2 separate regions of the Homo sapiens genome follow, and region 1 is linked to region 2. Evidence: promoter capture Hi-C in 16 types of primary human blood cells and fetal thymus (Javierre and others, 2016). All regions are on one chromosome and are shown on one strand. The core of a region is centred on a gene start or on the middle of the fragment in contact, and the rest is flanking DNA. Distances in the headings are between cores, read along the strand shown.

Region 1 (4,954 bases), core at 371-2,870, 130 kb before region 2:
CCATGGCGCCGCCAGCCGCCCGCCTCGCCCTGCTCTCCGCCGCGGCGCTCACGCTGGCGGCCCGGCCCGCGCCTAGCCCCGGCCTCGGCCCCGGACCCGGTGAGTGTGAGCGACCCCCCGCCGCCCGCCCTGAGCGGAGCCCACTCGAGGGGCGACAAGGGCCGGCCGGCCTGAGAGCCCCCTCCCTCCCGCTTCAGGACCTTCCGGGCCCCTTCCCCTCGCCCCTAGGCGACGCCCCTCAGGCCGGGATGGTCCCTTCCTGGGACCCGGGCTACCCCCAGGCCCGTCATCGACGCCCCCGGGCCCGGTACTGTCCCCCGGCTGCAGGACCCGGTGCTCCTCAGCGACGCCCCTCAGCCCAGGAGGCCCTCTCCGCCTTGAGTCTTCCAAGACCCTCTGCGACGCCCCCCGGGCTGGGACATCTTCTCTGTCTCGGGATCTGGGACCCGCTGCCCGAGTCCCTCAGCGACCCCAACCAGGCCGGGACGCCCCCTCTCCCCGGTACCTCCTGGGATCCCGTCCCAAGTCCCCAGCGACTTCCCCCGGGCCGGGACGTCCTCTGCTCCCCGGTACCTCCTAGGATCCCGTCCCAAAATCCCCAGCGACTCCCCACGGGCCAGGAGGCCCCCTGCTCCCCGGTACCTCCTGGGATCCCGTCCCCAAGTCCCCAGCGACCCCTCCCGGGCCGGGACGACCCCTGCTCCCCAGTACCTCCTGGGATCCCGCCCCAAGTCCTTCATCGACGCACCTTGCACCGGGACGACTCCCCCGCTACAAGAGGCTATACGCCCCTCTCCGAGACCTCCAGCGACATCCCTCCCCTGGGCCAAGGTCCCCTCCCTGAGCCTCACTGCGACGCCCCCGCGTCCCCCAGTCCTCTCCTCCCGCCTACACCGGTGGAACCCGGCGCCTCCCCGCGCAGAGCAGAGCGGAGGCGGGAGGAGCCGGCGCTCAGCCCCTTTTCCCGAGTCCTCGGCTGCACCCGCTTGGCGGACATTATAACTTCTGCCTCGCGAGGAACGGGATGGACTTGTTCGCCCTGCTAGAGGCAGGTTAGGGTCCTGGGACGACCTTGTACCCAGACGGACGGGACGTGCCCTCTCTCTCCGCTGGGCCGCTTTGAACTTCCCTATGACTCAGGTGATGGCGCAGAAGGGGGAGAGAAAAAAGGAAGCAGTGATGGGAAACTTCTCCCCAACTGAGTTTAGGGTGCTCTTCCTGAGGGTGCAACGCCGAGCTCCGTGTTTTGGGTCAGCCCACACCTTAGACAGGTCACTCACTACCCAGGCCAAGGCCAAGGCCAGGTCTTCCCGAGGTGAGGCCCTGGACCAGGATGAAGCTTGGCTTTTGCTTAACTTCCACACGCAACCTTGTAGCCGAATCCTTTCTAAGTGGAAGAGAAGGCAAGAGGGCGTTGCATTTCTCTGCAGGCTGTTTGGGTGTTGAGCATAGGCCATTTGTGAAAGGGATGGGAAGAGTTTATTACCAGTCTGCAGGAGTAGGAAAACCCGCCTCTGGGTTCTCCACCCAAAGTCACAGACTGATGTTGGAAAGGATGGGATTTTGCTGGTGTAAGAAAACTCAGAGTTGCTTTGTTTACTCATTGGCTTGGATTAGCGAAAAAGCTAGGACTTGGTGTTGTCACTTACTGGGTGACTTTGGGCCATGCCTTCAGCTCTCTGAGCCTCAGTTTCCTCATCTGTAAAGACAGGATAACTTCTTTGCAGAGTGTTGTGAAGATTAAATGATATACTGTAGGTAACATACCCGCATATAGGAGGGAGTCAATAAACATATTTTAATAATACTTTTATAGGGCCTCACAGTTCATCGAGTGCTAGACACCTCATTTACCCTGGGAATGCTAAGAGCTTTCGGTCTGATTCATTTCTGTAAAAGGCTAAGCTTGGCTTTAAATTAGTAGAACTGGGGTCTCCAAGTGTTGTAAACCTGAGGCTCAGTAAGTGGTTTCTGAGTGATCACCGTCTTTTATGGGACTTCTACAGTATGATCACTTCTACTGTTGTGAGGAGTGAGGGACATTCCGAGAGCCAGGATATGTCAACATGACTGTAACCTGGTAACCCCTTAGCTCCACTTTGCTATCTGTGTGGTCAGGGTTTAATGTCCCCTACAAAGAGAGAGGTATGGGTGGAAATAGACTGGTTCCCCTTCTGGAAAGGGCAGAGCAGCAGCTCTGATTTGCATCAAGTGAGCCAACTCTCCTTAAGCTCGTTGGAAGCTAGTCTCTTCCCAGATATCTTTGCTTTTTTAAGGTCAAATGCAGCATCTCTTATCAAGTTTGCACCCCAAATTTTGGTGTACTTTTATTTAGGAGTCTGGGGTAGGGGCAAATAATCGTTGTGAAATAATTTGTGATAAGTGGCCCAAGTTCCCAACTCACTGAGCCTTGCCAGCTTGGTGCCTTACCGTCCTGATAACTCAGTGCTTTGCTTTTTTGACTTTTCCTGTCTAGTTGCAGAAGCAATTTTAGGGAGATACCCCATGGTCTTCACCAACACATCCTGTCTAGATCCTACTCACTAGCTTTTAAAATCCTTCCCAATAAAACACACACACATACACACACACACATACACACACACACTTTACTCTGAGGATATGCCAAACTTGCCATTTTATATTTTTTGATACTGTAATTTTCTCTAAAATTTTGTGGATGGAAAAAATTATTTCAATATTTATATTCTGCACAATTTTGTAATATTTAAATTACTGGTGGTTTGCATTTTTGAATGCTGACTTTATAAAAACAGTTAGCTCATTCCCCATCAATCCTACTTCTAATTACAATGTGTAGCCAACCCCAAATGATCTCCCTTCTTTTCATTCTTCCTCTAAGATTCTCTTCCTTCCTTCACAACTCATAAGAAGGAAAGTAGAAGGTAATGGAATCTAGACTTTCCTTCAAGGAGGAGTGCAACCAGGGCCATGTGGTCGAGAGGTTCTCTGTAGTAGGTCCCATCTGGAATTTATGGAATTTATGGTCTACTCACTTGAGTATTTTACTACCTTTAGGGTCTATTAGGTGCACATCAACAGAGCTTCTCCACTCAGGTTATGTTTGCTGTGAATACCTTTTATAAGTTTATAGACTGATGCTCATTCTCCTCTACCTCCTCATCTGGAATTTGCCCCACTAGCCAGTAGTGTGTTTGCCCTAAAACCTATGAGTTCAGTTAACAGCTAGAGCTTCATACTGTCTACCAATTCTTGGTTCTCTTGGGGACTTCATTAATGCTAATAGAATTACCTGTAAGCGACATGGGGGCTGAAGCAGTGAAGGAGTGAAGGGTGCATACCAGTTACTTGCATACTCTGAGTATTTTAAGAAACACCATTTCGACCTGCTATCAAAGACCTCTGATATTTTTGTGAAAATATACTTTAGTCCCTAGACAAACCATTTAAATCTTTGAGGCCGGGCGCGGTGGCTCACACCTGTAATCCCAGCATTTTGGGAGGTCAAGGCAGACGGATCACCTGAGGTCAGGAGTTCAAGGCCAGCCTGGCCAACATGGTGAAACCCCATCTCTACTAAAAATACAAAAAATTAGCCGGGCATGGTGGCACGTGCCTGTAATCCCAGCTACTTGGGAGGCTAAGGCAGGAGAATCGCTGGAACCCAGGAGGCAGAGGTAGCGGTGAGTTGAGATCACACCATTGCACTCCAGCCTGGGCAATAAGAGCAAAACTCTGTTTCAAAATAAACAAATAAATAAAAAGTATTTGAGATAGGCAATGAGTCCCTTTATAAATCTTAAAGCAAGAAAGCATTCCTTTTAGGCTCACTACTCATAAACAGAAAGTTGATGCACTTCTTGTATATCAATACAGATATTATTGATAAACTCATGGTTTAGCATAGTTAGACCAAAAGCAATAAATGAGTAAGATAAAATATATTGCTTTAAATAGCTTCACAATATACAGATTAGGGATTTTTGGTGATGGGGAATATACCATCCTTAGTTTAGAATTTTTGAGTCTGGAAATGTCAACTGATAATCTAGGTCAGGTGTGGGCAAGCATTTTTTGTAGAGGAAGACAGTAAATAATATGAGATTCATGGGCCTTATACTATCTGTGTTGCAATTATTCAACTCTGTAGGGCAAAAGCAGCACAGACAAAAGACAAATGAATGGGTGTGACAGTGTTTCAGTAAGGCTTTATGGACACTGAAATTTGAATTTCCTATTTTTATTTATTTTTTTAAAGAGACGGAGTCTCACTCTGTCACCCAAGCTGAAGTGCAGTGGCGCAATCTCGGCTCACTGCAACCTCCGCTTCCCGGGTTCTAGCAGTTCTCCTGCCTCAGCCTCTCAAGTAGCTGGGATAACAGGCATGCATCACCATGCCTGGCTAGTATTTTATTTTTAGTAGAGACGGGGTTTCACCATGTTGCCCAGGCTGGGAATTTCCTATAATTTTTATGTTAACAAAATATTGTTCATTTGATTTTTCAAAACTAAAATATTTTTAAAATTATAGATTTTTTAAGTCTTAGCTTGTGGGCCATACAGAAACAGGCAGTGAGCCAGATCTGGGCCACAGGCTGTGCTTTGCTGAGTTCTGTTCAAGGTCCATGTCTTCTGATTTTTTTCAGTGTTCACTGGTCTAGAAAAGGTGAGAAGGAGGCTTGATTTTGGTGAATGAATGAAACTTTTACCATTTACTGTTAACTAACTTTAAGATACATATGGGAGAAATGGTTAAAATGGTACATTTTATGTTAATATTTTACTACAATTTTTTTTTAAAAAGATACGTATGGGGAAAAGTTTGTGCACGTACATTTGGGTCTTTAATAGGACTTTTAGACCAGGTGCAGTGGCTCAAGCCTGTAATCCCAGCAGTTTGGAAGGCTCAGGTGAATGGATCCCTTGAGCCCAGGAGTTTGAGACCAGCCTAGGCAACATAGTGAGACCCTGT
Region 2 (4,814 bases), core at 643-3,142:
CTCATTCTGTGGCACCCATCTGACACCCTAGACACCTCTCAGTCCCTCCAAGGCATTATCCAGTGCTTCTCCTTCCTAAACAGCTGCATGTTTGAGCTTCCTAAACAGCTCAAAGCACCCCTGGGGTGATGGGTTTTTATCTGGGCCGCTTGATTGGGGTTTCAGACAGGCCTGGCATCCTCTTGGGGGCATGGCTCCTCAGGAGTGACGAATTATCCAGGGTGTTAAGTCACTGATCTAGCTGTGTCAAAAACAAGGGCTAACCAGAGAGGTACAAAGCTGCATTTCTTGGAGGTCAGAGAGATGGCACAGGAGATGTGCCAAAATTTCACGTGAAAAGGAGGGCAACAGCTCCCCAAGGGGGCAACATTGGCACCATGGTGATGTCGCTGGAGGGAGAGGGAGCCCTTGGGGGACTATGTGAAGTAGGGGAGAGTGGGTGACAGGCCATTACCATGATATCTCAATCCTTCCCACACTCCTGTAACGAATGTACAACTGTCCTCCCTGCAAAAGAAACACTGAGGCTGCGAGAGGGGCAAGACTTGCCTGAGCTAACTGGAGCAGAAGTAGCAGAGGCAGGGTTTGAACCCAGCTCTCACTACCTGTCCCTTGGGACAGGGCAACAGCTTTCTCTATGTGGACACACTGGTGATGGATCCCCCGTCCTGCCTGCCTGCCTGCCTATGGTGGCCTATGCTGCCTGCCCCTGGTGAGTCCAGGAGGGGCAATCCAGTGACTGGCAGATCCTTTCTGGGGAGTGTTTCTAGAAGGGACCGTGGGTCTGGACAAGCCATAACAGGAAGTAGCCAAGCTGGGCAAGGGCTTCCCCAGCCCAGGCCTAACTACTGCCCATCGATCCAGGCAGAAGGCGGGGTTAGAGACTGCCCTGGGAGATTGGGGGTCTGGGTCCCCTCTGATGAGAGCTCTGGTCTCTCCCTATAAACACACACTCCTATCACAGACACACACATAACACACATGCACATAAATCCACATCAAGCATGCACACACATCCATCATACACACATACGACACACACATGCACCCCTGCACACACACACTACGCTTACATATACCTTTGTGGGATGTAGAGCCATTCCTCCAGAAGCCCATCCATGTACCCCAGATGAAACCACCCAACACCAATTCTTACCTTGTTACATATGGTGAAATCAAGGCATAGACCGAAGTGCTGTGGTTAAGAGCTGTTACTCTCCGAAGTCAGGCGATCTGGGTACAAATCCTGGCTCTGCCAAACCCCTGCCACGGTGCTTTAGGTAAATGACAGCTCCTTTCTGTGGCTTAGTTTCTCCACCTGTAAAATGAGAATAAGAACAGACTCTGCACTTATGGGGTCAGCCCAGATCTCCTCCTAGGGAGACTGCGAGTGCCTGGGCCTCAGTTTTCTCTTCTGTAAAATGGGGATATTGTGCCCAGTTCGAGCAGAGTGGCTTGAAGAGTCACCTGAGATAGGATGTGAAGTGGCCGCGGTGAGGTGCCCAATACACGTGGCGCGCACTGCTCAGGAAGCTTTCCTTGGAGGGCTGGATCCCGCAAAGGTGTCGAAAAAGGATGAGTCCCGGATATCATTCGCTCAGGTGAGGTGGGTTCGGGTCCCGGCTGCGTCTGGGACCGTGGCCCGGGCCTCAGTTTCCCAGTCTACAGCCCGTGGGAGGACACCTCGGAGCTGGCACCCCGCCCCCAAAAGGGCCCCGCGGCGCAGGGCGTGGGGCTCAGGTGGACACCTGGCGGGCCTCCTGGCGGGGGCGCCCTGGCCGCCCGGGCCCCTCCGGGCTCCTTCCGGGTTGGCAGCGGCGGCGCAGGGGGCGGGGGGCAGCGCAGAGGGGCCGGGCGAGGCCGGGAGCGCGCGCCCCCGCCCCCGCCCGCCCGCCTCCTGCCCGCCCTCCGGCCGCGGAGCTGGAAACCGGGCTCCGCGCGTCCGGGGCGGCTGGCGGCGCGGGCAGGCAGGCGGGGAGGACAGGCTGGGGGCGGCGACCGCGAGGGGCCGCGCGCGGAGGGCGCCTGGTGCAGCATGGGCGGCCCGCGGGCTTGGGCGCTGCTCTGCCTCGGGCTCCTGCTCCCGGGAGGCGGCGCTGCGTGGAGCATCGGGGCAGCTCCGTTCTCCGGACGCAGGTAAGAGCTCCCGGCGCCTTTGCACCCCGCTGGCCGAGGGTCCCGGCGCGCACACGCCCCCACCTCCAGGAAGGGCTGGGATTGGAGGGCGATCCAGTCCCCAGCCCGGGTGAGGGCAGGGACACGGCCATCCCGCGGTCCGGCTGAGGCTCCCGCGAGTGCGGGGTCCCCTACTCCATGTGTCGGAGCTGGCTGCCTCCCCTACTCCCTCCCTTTCAACCCAGGAGCTCGAGAGGAGGGGGAAGGGGCGCAACGAGGGCGAAGCCCTGGCCCTTCTGTTCCCCTGTCCCTAGGGCCCCTCCCCCTGCACTTGGGAAAGGCCTATGACACCCCCTAGCCGACTCTTCTCGGACCCTCTCTCCCCTTTTCCCTGTTCCTGTTTTTTTGCTTTGTTTTGTTTTTTGTTTGTTTGTTTTGTACCCAGGCTATTTATCTCCCTCGGAGGAGGGACTGGGGTGGAGTCTCACAGCCCAGTGGGTCAGTGTCGGAGATACCCCAGGGACCTGGCATTTTGGACAGAGAAAAGAGGGAGCACAGTCTTCCTTCTGCTCTCCTAGCGGCGGGGAACCTCCTCCCTGCTGGCCTTTACGGAGGAGCTCCCAGAACCTGACATGGTGGGGCCCATTATTATATATAGTGTCCTCATCAATCCTTGAAGGACCGAATGAGGTAGGGAAAACTGTCCCCATTCAACGGTTAAGCAAACTGAGACCCTAGGGAATTGGCATCATCTTTTAGCCTCATGGGCTATTCACTGAAGAGCTAGGTTGCAAATCTGCCCTTCTATCCTTGATGACAGTGTTTGAACCTGTCCTGGCCTCTGTCCTGGCTGCAGCCCCAGCGAGGGTCCCCTCCTAAAGGCCAGCCGCCGTTGTCCAAGGCAGACAATGTGGAGTAGCCAGGCCTCTCCAGGCCTTTTCATCCCATTCAAAGGCCTGCGCGGCCCCCACCCCCTACGGCCTCAATTCTTTAATTCTTTTCAGAAATTCTCCTTTCCCAGTGGTCAGGGGCCAGCATGCCCCTGCTGGGCTAGCAAGAGCAGTTGACATGGGCAGGGCTGGAGGACGGAGGTGGTTGAAGCATCAGAGGCCAGAAGAGCAGTTGTCTGAGACAGGGGTGGACGTGTGGCAGATGTTACAGCCACCACCTATTGTGTGCAGACAACAGTTAGCCTGAGTCGGCTCCGTTACCTGCATTCATCAGCTCCAGAATCCTCCCAGCTGCTTGGAGGTATGCTCTTTATGATTCTGTTTCATAGAGGAGGAAGATGAGGCTCAGAGAGGGAACATGACCTGCCCAGAGCATGGAAGTGAGCCGCCAGGATCCCAGATGCTAAGAGGACAGAGACTATGAACTCAGAAATCCCACTGTTAGGCTCAGGATGATGGTGGCGACAGCTTAAGGCCCAGACCGCCCTGCAGCCAGTTCAAGGCAGGGCTTCCCAGCCTGGGCTCCTCACCTCCCAGGGTCTCCTGGGTGGGAACAGGATGATGGCTATAACCAGGTATCTGGTGGTCACTGGGGACTGTCACTCCATGTGTTGACAGAAGCCTATCACAGTAGCCTGAGCATCCCAAAAACCCTGTGGGCAACACTATTGCACCCATTGTACAGATACGGAGGCTGAGGCCTACAGAGGACAAGTGGCACCTCAGTCCAGACCAGTCGATTTCCAAATCCAGTGGCTTTTTCTCTCCAGCAGCCTTGCTGGAAGAGGGAAAGAGGTTGTCGGCTTGGGGGCACCAGGAAAGGTTTGCAGTCATGATTAGGAGTTAGGGGCTCCAGCCTTGGACAGAATGGAGACAGAATTCCTTGCTCTTACAGGCTTGATGTGTGACCTCAAGTGGGTCACTTCCTGGCCATGGGTCTCAGTTTTGCTCTCAGTTTCCTTCTTTCCTCGTGGGAAGGACCAGCACCGGGCCTCACCTGCAGTGGTTCCTGCTATCAATCATGTCACATGGGGGTAGGGACCTGGAGCTTGAGGAGTCTGTGGGCTACCAGAACCTCCACTTGTGGCCCCATCCCCACGTTGCTGGAGACAGCATGGGGGTGTCATGCCCTGTCAGCCTTCCTGCCACCCACACCCCAGCACCCCAGGCACCCCTTGGCAGCCAAGGGACCAGACGCAGAAAAGAGGCTTTGTCCTGGGGAGGGGGTGGCCTGGGAAGGCATCCAGGGGGCCGCCCCTTGCCCCAGGAAGGTGGTGACACTTGGAGACCCCCGGAACCAGGGTGCCCAAGGGCTATGCAGAGCTGCCTTGGCTTGCCCCTGCCCCTGGGGCTGCTTCCTGCCCCGCTGAGGTCCTTCTAAGCCTGGAGTCTGCTTCCTTTAACCACTCATCTCAGCGTTTCAGCTGAGGGTTCAAGCCTTCACCAGCCCAGATCTCTCGCCCCTGCAGCACCGGCTTCCTTCCGGCAAATCCTAGGATCAGGGAGAATGGAGGGCTCTAAAATGGAGGGGATCTGCCCCAGCCTCTGTCTAGGGGGCTGCAATCCCAGCTGATGCCCACAGGGGTGACCTGGGTAGGTGCTTTCTCTTGGAGCCTGTTTCCCCCTCTGTAAAATGCAGAACCTGATAATCCCTATTCCAAGGGGAAGACCTTGTGAAGAAGGTACTGTGCTGGTGTCCCCAATCCCCAGGGAAGCCCCTGGACCAAGCTGCTGGGTGTGGGGCCCATG

The links. The method cuts DNA at HindIII sites, captures the fragments that hold promoters and counts their contacts. A CHiCAGO score of 5 or more calls a contact.
Region 1: a fragment that was not itself captured here is called in contact with the fragment with the promoter of EMID1 in region 2 in 1 of 17 cell types (erythroblasts); the score reaches 5.3 in erythroblasts.

The regions. Positions count from the first base shown.
Region 1 is chr22:29,073,129-29,078,082 of GRCh38, forward strand. KREMEN1 (kringle containing transmembrane protein 1) reads left to right here. Exons shown (of 9, transcript NM_001039570.3): 1 at 1-99. The coding sequence starts at 3. It also overlaps a transcript of C22orf31 not described here. Among named protein-coding and RNA genes, the nearest start is that of KREMEN1, 2.6 kb to the left of the region's middle. The HindIII fragment of the contact is 566 bases long and covers 1,338-1,903 here.
Region 2 is chr22:29,204,004-29,208,817 of GRCh38, forward strand. It overlaps EMID1 (EMI domain containing 1), which reads left to right and starts at 1,893. Exons shown (of 15, transcript NM_133455.4): 1 at 1,893-2,136. The coding sequence starts at 2,036. LOC101929638 (a long non-coding RNA gene) reads right to left here and starts at 1,829. Exons shown (of 5, transcript XR_938134.3): 1 at 1,468-1,829; 2 at 1,157-1,318. RefSeq lists silencers at 1,988-2,077, 2,088-2,247, 2,268-2,327. The HindIII fragment of the contact is 3,358 bases long and covers 1,532-4,814 here.